Linked DNA regions of Homo sapiens: all the other regions are linked to region 1. The links are contacts of gene promoters, found by promoter capture Hi-C in human tissues and cell types (Jung and others, 2019). All regions are on one chromosome and are shown on one strand. Each heading gives the region's core, a stretch centred on a gene start or on the middle of the fragment in contact. The rest is flanking DNA. Distances are from core to core; before and after follow the strand shown. Region 1 holds the start of ARHGAP44 (Rho GTPase activating protein 44). Region 2 overlaps ARHGAP44 (Rho GTPase activating protein 44). Region 3 overlaps ELAC2 (elaC ribonuclease Z 2).

Region 1 (2,938 bases), core at 428-2,927:
CTTGGAAACCATCTGGAGTCCCTGGAAGCATAAGAAGCCACCGCATCCCCTGCCCTCAAATGCCCACTGTAACTAGGGCAGTATGCTCAGACGGGAGTTCAGATGTCCCCTATTCCCCAGGGATGTCCCCACCCCCATCCTACCAGATGCCAGTTCAGGCTCCACTTCCCACCCAAGAAAGGTATTCGGTTTCTCCGTAAACCTAGTGGAGAGCCCTCGAGGTGTTGAGCTTGCATTTGAACTGCACCCAAGGCTGGATTCTTTGCTTTCTGATTGCTTTAGAACAGCACACCTGAATTCCTTTGCCACAGCAGCAACGGAAATCCCTCCCCAGGAGTAGGGGTTCCAGGAAAAATCCCTTCTACCTAACGCTCCTGTGTTCAAAGAATGTCTAGTCTTGGGAGCGACCCACCAGGATTTTTATGTAACCTTAATAGATGTTGGCACCCTGCAGAGCCGCTCCTGGAGTCCAGATGTAGCCCATTTTCACCGTGATGGCAGCAGGCGGGGTCTTGCAGCTTCCCGGGGCCTGACTCTTCTGACTGTGGGGCCTCTGTCCCCCTCCCCTACCTGGCTGCGATTCTCTGCTTATCTCATCTTCCCGAGGACTTGGGCCTCCTTTTTGCAGCCTCCCTCCCTCCACTGAAATCAGTCCTAACATCAAGCAGGCAGCAACGCCATTCCACCAGCACCTTCCTTCCTCTCCCACCCCTCACCCTTTCCCCCCACCAAACGCCTTAAGAAACCCGGCCAGGAAAGTGATCCAGAATCTCGTACAGTCATAGTCCCTGAAAACAAACACGGCGGGAGGGGCAGGCCGACCAGGCCCAGCACTTTCCCTGGACCCGGGAGCAGCCCTGAACTCGGCGCAGGGGAGGGGAGGGAAGAGATCTCCGGAGACCGACTGCGGTTCGGCTGCCTCCAGCACAATCAGAGCAAACACCTGTTTCCAGGAAGACAGGCGGCCAGAGGGAGAAGGGAGTCCCGGGGAAAGGCAGGGAGGACGAAGCGAAGGGGCAGCCGGGGACGCAGGTAAAGGATGCGTCACACTTTGCGCTTGGCAACCGGAGCCCGGAGCAGAAGGCGGCGAGTGAGAAGAGCTCCGGGGTCTGGGAAGTTAGGGAGGAGGGGTCGCGCCTGCGAGCGGCGCCTGGAGGGAGCTGGTGCAGGGGAAAGGACTGAGGCAAGGAGGACTGGAGGCTGGGCGGGCTCCATCACCTGCGCGCCCCTGCGGATGCAGCCTCGCGGGCGCGCACCGACAGCGGTGCCCGCGGGTGACCTACCTGCCCACCGTCTGGTTGGCCAGCTGGCGCATGCGATTGAACTGCTTCTTCATCGTGGCCCCGCTGCCGCGCTAGCCCGGGAGCTGGGGAAGGACGGAGCAGCCCGGAGCCCGCCGCAGGGTTACATGGCTCCCGCGCGGAGCCTCCCGGGCGACGGCGGCGGCACTGCGGAGCCTCCGGGCGCCGTCTGGCCCGCGCGCAGCTCCCTCCCGAGGGCGCCGCCGCCTACTCCTCCCGCCGCGCCGCCTCCTGCCGCATCCCCCTCACGCGCGCCGCGCAATGCCCGGGGCAGAGCAATGCCTGGGGCCGTCCTCGGCACCGGCCCGCTCCGCCCGGGCTGCCTGCTCCCAGTCCCAGTCCGGCGCGGGGACCCGGGAGTCTCCGCAGGCTGGCTGGCCGGCTGGCCCGGCGGTCCCCGTGCGCCTGTGCGGAGAACGCCGTGCATGCCGGGACTTGTAGTTTCGCGCCCCGTGCCCACCTTTCCTCTGTCCAAAGTTTGCAAGGACAGTGGAGTGCGGAGGTGGGAGAAGGCAGCGTCACCAGCAGCTTTGCACTTTAGCGTTCGAGTAAGGGAAACGTTTTCCTGTTTTAAAAATGGCAAAGTGGGACCAAGAATACAACAGCAAATAAAGAAAGTGAGCATCTGTCTCTCATTGTATTTTTAGTGAATGTGAGGTATCAGTGTTCTGAATTCACAGAAGGGAGATTTATGCTAGCAGATACGTGGCTGATAAAACGGTCTAAGGTCACCTGATTAATGATGAGGTTCAAGGTTAAGCTTGAAACACAGGGGCTGACAGCAGATTTTGAACAGGCATAGCTTGCATCCCAGAAGTCTGATTCTTAATTTTTACCAAACCAAACCCATTAGGTAACCAGAAGCCAATATAGATAAGTGACGTTGTGCTTACTGGCCCAACCTGTCTGAGACAGCTTTTTTGTATGGCTTAGATGCCAATCTCGTATCTAGTCCCATTTCCCTTCCACCACCAGGAGACCAAGGGGCATCAGCTGCAGCACCCCCCAAGTGTCCTGCACCACAGCATCCCATTGGCGTCAGTTGACTCCTTGGAAGGGGTTGTGGCTTCTTTGGTCTCTATCCTTAGAAAAAGATAGGTGAGCCGGGCGCGGTGGCTCACGCTTGTAATCCCAACAGTTTGGGAGGCCAAGGAGGGTGGATCACGAGGTCAGGAGTTCGACACCAGCCTGGCCAACACAGTGAAACCCTGTCTCTGCTAAAAATACAAAAATTAGCTGGGCGTGGTGGCGGGCACCTGTAATCCCAGCTACTTGGGAGGCTGAGGCAGGAGAATAGCTTGAACCTGGGAGGTGGAGGTTGCAGTGAGTGGAGATCGCGCCATTGCACGCCAGCCTGGGTGACAGAGCTAGACTCCATCTCAAAAAACAAAAAAAAAAGAAAAGAAAAAAAAGAAAAAGATTGGTGATTGCAGTTAGGTTTTATCATTATATATCAAGGTTTTATCATTATATATCAAGTAAAAGCAGTATTGTTGGGTGTGAGGCACTTTGGATTAAACAGATAGGAGTTCCTGCATCAGAATTCCACATACCTGTTATATAACCTTAGGAAAACAGCTTAACCTCTCCAAACCTCTGTTTCCTCATCCCTAAATAGAAAAATATGCTGCCTGATC
Region 2 (2,825 bases), core at 48-2,547, 140 kb before region 1:
TGTTATATATATAATATATATGTATGTATAATATATATGCATATATAATATATATACATATATTATACATACATATATATTATATATATTATATATGTATATATATTATGTATATACATATATATTATATATACATATATATTATATATATACAATATATATTATATATAATACATATATAATTTTTTTTTCATATCAAGTCTCGCTCTGTCACCCAGGCTGGAGTGCAGTGGTGCAATCTCAGCTCACTGCAACTTCCACCTCCTGGGTTCAAGCGATTCTTCTGCCTCAGCCTCCCGAGTAGCTGGGATTACAGGCACATGCCACCATGCCCAGCTAATTTTTGTATTTTTAGTAGAGACGGGGTTTCGCCATGTTGGTCAGGTTAGTCTTGAACTCCTGACCTCAGGCCATCCACCCTCATTCGCCTCCCAAAGTGCTGGGATTATAGGCGTGAGCCACCGTGCCTGGTCTATTTTGATATTTTAAAACAGTGACAAGATGTCCAAAATATGTTCTCTTTGTGGAACATAAATAGCAAACAAAATACCAAGGTAAACTCTTGTCATGTGAACAGACGAGTTTTGTACAGATACTCATGCTGGAAAAGGTGACATGAATTTTGTACAGATAGTCATGTTGGGAAAATTTTGTACAGATAGTCATTTTGGGAAAAGTAACACGAATTATGAATTTCAAGGTTTGGTAGTCTTTTCAGACCTCTGTTCTACACATAAACTCAAGAGTTGGGCTGCTCTGTCAGAGGAGAAACAGGAACACTAGACATTGTCCAAGGAAACTTTGAGCTTTGAAAGTTGAAGAGCAGAAGGATCATTTCTTCTCACTAAAGTAGCTGATGTACCACCATCCTTCTCTGGGGAAAGAGGACTTGTGACTATGTGATCTGGGGGAGATGAAGATGGGACACAAGCTTTAATGAAGCCTTGGGAGAGATGAGAGAGAAGGGAGAGGAATAAGGGTTTAAAATTTCAGGTACCAGGAATATGTAAAGAAGGCAAATGCAGGTCAGTTCAGGACAACAGAATGTCCAGAAGAAGAATTTTAAAAGGCAGACAGGAGAGTGTCTTCATTGGGGCATTCACTGTTCCTTCTGTCTAGTCTTGCCCCTTCCTCTGCCATGGGCATCCCCCACTTTTTAAGTTCCTGCTTCCACTCTGCAGTAATGTGTGGTCAAAAAGGGGACTGCCAGGTTCTGCATGACCCAGGCAGTGAGTGGCCCAGGTGAGGGCCTCTGATCCAAGTCAAGCCTGTGCCATCCTTCCTCACACTGACCCAACTGACGAGTCATGGAAGTGGGCATATGAGCAAAGTCCAGACAAATGGAGTCCCTCTTTGGCACTTTCGGAATTGGGGCAAAAGGAAGAGGGCTCATAGTGGGGAGACATGAGCCCATGCGACATCCAGTGACCTTGAAGAAATCAGATGTGAGAAAAAGACACCTGTATGGGGAGGGGTGAGAGACGAGGAATGAGTTTTGATGGCCATCGAGACTCCACTGCCAGTTCTAACAAGACTTCACACTGCCCCGCCTCCAGAATTCCACTTCTTAACTCCATAGCCTGCACAGTTTCCACTCCAAAACCCTCCTGTCTTACTTACACTAGTTCACTTGCTTCCAAAGAAGGTAGGGCTTCCATAACAAAGTACCACAGACTGGGTGGCTTAAACAACAGAGGCTTATCTTCTCACAATTCTGGAGGCTGGACATCCAAGATCAAGACAGAGGCTGGAGACCTCTATCTGTGACTTGCAGATGGCTGCTGTTTCTGTCCTCACACAGCTTTCCTCTGAGTGCGTGTAGAGAGAGAGATCACTCTTTCTCCCTATAAGGCCACCAATCCTAGTGAAATAGGGGCCCATTCTTATGACCTCATTTAACCTTAATAAGGTTCTCCTAAAGAACCTATCTCCAGATACAGTCGCATTGGGGGTTAGCGCTTCAATATACAAATTTTGGAGAGATACCATTCAGTCCCTAGGACCCAGAGGCAGCTGGTTCGGCAGAAATGGAATGTGTATGTGTCCCAGACTCGGGAGGGTTAACCTTGAGCTACATGACCAGAAAAAAGTCAGGCTGACTTTGGAGAAAAATTAGGCTCCTTCTTTAAGCACTGCTAAACCAAACCTATCACACACAAAAAAGAAATTTGCGTATCATTCAATTCAATTCACAACCTTTAATTCAGCATAAAGCGTCCTGTAAGCATCAGTTTCTCTGAGAATATTGAGGTCTGTATCATTGGCTTTTGAAGCAGACAAGCCAGATTTACTTCAATAGTGACAAACATACACATCTTATTGGGATCTAATTAAACACGAGATAAATTAATTGGATTTGACAGTATCCATCAGAATTGTGGCAGAAATTAAAGATCCAGTCATGGGACTATTGTTCAAGATGTGCTGATAATATATACAAATCTACTTCCTGTCTTGAAAGGCGGAGGGTCTCTATGTGGAATTCACTGTTGCAGTGCTGCAGAGCATACTTCATGAAGGACAGAACAATATGAAATAAATCAGAAGTAGGATGCTGCAAGGAAGAAAAACTAACCTGTGCCATTGGCTTTATGGAGAAATGCAGGGGGTAGGGGGGGAGCATTCAGAACCCAGCTGTTCCAGAAGAGGAGCTGGTGATCCCTGCTGTTCAATAGCACAGCATTTGGTCTTGCTCTCACTGCTATATCTTGGGATGCAGACCTCATACGGGCTAAGAGTGAGGAGTTAGGGAAAATGGCAGGAAGTTGTGTTGGGTTGGCTTCTTATGGCTTTTGGCAAGGTCCTACAAGACAGGTAGACTCAGG
Region 3 (2,700 bases), core at 99-2,598, 220 kb before region 1:
GGCGCACGTCACCACACCCGGCTAATTTTTTGTATTTTTAGTAGTGACAGGGATTCACCGTCTTAGCCAGGGTGGTCTTGATCTCCTGACCTCATGATCTACCCGCCTCGGCTTCCCAAAGTGCTGGGATTACAGGCATGAGCCGCTGTGCCTGGCTATTAGAGATTTTTTATTATAATTTATCTCCAAGATAAAAGCAGTGACATTATATTGCCACATAATTGAAAAATACAAGAGAAATAAAAATCATCCATGCTTTTGTTAGCCTATCACTGTCATTGAAATATTATGTTACATGGCAGTTTGCTTGCTGGTTGCTCTGTTAGGCAACGCTCTGGTGACATTCCTTTAGCTATTAATTGAGGAATGTAGAATGACAGAACAGTGTTTCTCCTCAATGATACTTGAAGGATATTTATTAACTTTCATATTGAATTACATTTTATTAAATTTATAATGAGTTAATGCTGGGAAATAAAACACTGATTTAAGTCATTTTGGCTTTTAGTACTAAAGCATTTGACAATAAATGACTTCTTCAGAATATGGTATACCTTCTGAAAGCAATAAACGCATTTTAATGAATTGTAAGGAAACAACATCATTTTATTTTTTATTTTTTTTTTTGAGACAGACTTTCGCTTTTGTTGCCTAGGCTGGAGTGCAATGGCGCGATCTCGGCTCACTGCAACATCCGCCTCTGGGTTCAAGCGATTCTCCTGCCTCAGCTTCCTGAGTTGCTGGGATTACAGGCACGTGCCACCACGCCTGGCCAATTTTGTATTTTTAGTAGAGACGGGGTTTCTCCACGTTGGTCAGGCTGGTCTCAAACTCCTGACCTCAGGTGATCTGCCCGCCTCAGCCTCCGAAAGTACTGGAATTACAGGCGTGAGCCACCGTGCCTGGCCAACATTATTATTTTTTTTTAATCTAGAAAAATACACTTCTAAGAAAATTGATTAAAACCAACCTTCTTCATTAGCCCCTAAGATCACATCTATGTTCTCTTTGTTGCAGCTTCACTTAAAGAGAGGAAACTTCTTGGTGCTCAAAGCAAAGGAGATGGGCCTCCCAGTGTGAGTGTGGGGGGTAAGGCTTCTGGGGACTCACTGGGTACACCTGTCCACTTAAGGAAATCACATTTCACAGAGGCCTTGCCTCTTCATTTCAGTGGGACAGCTGCCATCGCTCCCATCATTGCTGCTGTCAAGGACGGGAAAAGCATCACTCATGAAGGAAGAGAGGTGAGATGCCTGGTTTTCTTGATTCAGCAGTTACAGGTAGGGTCTGAAATGCTGGGCAGAGTCTGTCTTCTTCAGGCCCTACAGACACCACTTTTGAAGGACGTGGAACAGTTTGGACATCACTCAGCTAAGTGATAAAATGGCCTCTTTTATCTGTGTTTGTCCCGCATGTCAACACGGCTGCATTCGAGCATTTTTGTAGATTGTCCATTTAGGATCTAGTCACCGTCCTCCTTAAAGGGTGCATGCTTTCCTTGGTACTTGAGCTCAGGACAGTGTCTAACAACAGACCCCATATGGATGGGCCTGGGGTTTATGGTCCAGAGGAATGCCACAGTATTCTATGTCAAGATATTTCCTCTGACTTCTGAGGACATTAGGACCAGTGGCCACAGACTGAAGAAAACCTTAATGCCAAGCCTCCTTTCCTGGCCAGTGTAGGCCTGAAGTGCCTCAACCTGACAGTTACCTGTTTAGGTATCCACAAAGAGACCAGAAGGGTGTTGATGGTGATGTGTAAAGTTGGTTTTGTGCTTTGTTTACCTCTCAGCTCACTGGATAGGATATGTCATGTTAGCAGTTGCCTTGAAGGCAGTTCAGTTTGGTGGCTGAGCTGTGACCCCCAGTGGGCGGGCTTATTTGGTTTTGCAGATTTTGGCTGAAGAGCTGTGTACTCCTCCAGATCCTGGTGCTGCTTTTGTGGTGGTAGAATGTCCAGATGAAAGCTTCATTCAACCCATCTGTGAGAATGCCACCTTTCAGAGGTAATGAGGGGTCTCTAGGGTGGGAGAAGTGAGAGCTGAAACCCAGCCCAGCATCGACATGGGCATCTTGTGGCAAGAGCTGTGTTTCTGGGAAGACCACTATCTGGGTTTACAGTTCAGAGGCCGGCACTCCTGCCTTAAGTCACTGTTGGTAGTTGGTGGGCTCCGGTGTACACAGCCTCAAAGTGAAATTAGAAAAGATTGAAAACTAGAAACAACTGAGGACTAGAAATTCAACTAGAACTCTTACAGCTCTTATACCAGAAGAAATTCTAGAACTTTTTTGAATTCTAACTAATGCCCCAGATTATCATTTGGATTATTTTGAACTGAATTAATTTTCTTCCATTACCTGCATTGAAACAAATGAGGTGGGTCAGAGTGTGTGAGACTGTCGTGGTCAAGAGTCCGTGTTATGGGATGGACTCACAGCTGGGGAATGTCTTTTGGGCTAACTGCCACTCTGTTGTTGTCCTCTATCGAAGTTAACCAGTTTTGCGGTTCAGCTTTCATTCCAGATGGAATCATCTTTGACCCACCTATCTGAGTTTGAATCTTTTCCCCCACTCTTAATGGTTTACCTGTATTTTTCCTGTTCCTAGTTTGTATCTATCTGTATTTTTTCACTTGTTTTTTTCTACTTACCACAACAAATCCTTTTGGGCTGCTGTACCCCTTCCGAGTCAGAGCGT

Evidence for each region. Contacts are between HindIII fragments. The study calls those that stand out against the background at their distance.
Region 2: a fragment that was not itself captured here is called in contact with the fragment with the promoter of ARHGAP44 in region 1 in 2 of the 25 tissues and cell types used here (dorsolateral prefrontal cortex and lymphoblastoid cells).
Region 3: a contact is called between a fragment that was not itself captured here and the fragment with the promoter of ARHGAP44 in region 1, in 1 of the 25 tissues and cell types used here (lymphoblastoid cells).

The regions. Positions count from the first base shown.
Region 1 is chr17:12,788,237-12,791,174 of GRCh38, reverse strand. ARHGAP44 (Rho GTPase activating protein 44) reads right to left here and starts at 1,677. Exons shown (of 21, transcript NM_014859.6): 1 at 1,284-1,677. The coding sequence starts at 1,336. ARHGAP44-AS1 (ARHGAP44 and MYOCD antisense RNA 1) reads left to right here and starts at 891. Exons shown (of 2, transcript NR_104607.1): 1 at 891-1,032. RefSeq lists a silencer at 1,401-1,750. The HindIII fragment of the contact is 5,339 bases long and covers 1-2,938 here.
Region 2 is chr17:12,923,731-12,926,555 of GRCh38, reverse strand. All of the region lies in intron 6 of ARHGAP44 (Rho GTPase activating protein 44), which reads right to left. Among named protein-coding and RNA genes, the nearest start is that of MIR1269B, 7.8 kb to the right of the region's middle. The HindIII fragment of the contact is 4,426 bases long and covers 1-2,825 here.
Region 3 is chr17:13,004,297-13,006,996 of GRCh38, reverse strand. ELAC2 (elaC ribonuclease Z 2) reads left to right here. Exons shown (of 24, transcript NM_018127.7): 9 at 1,018-1,076; 10 at 1,172-1,244; 11 at 1,896-2,008. Among named protein-coding and RNA genes, the nearest start is that of ELAC2, 12 kb to the left of the region's middle. The HindIII fragment of the contact is 8,331 bases long and covers 1-2,700 here.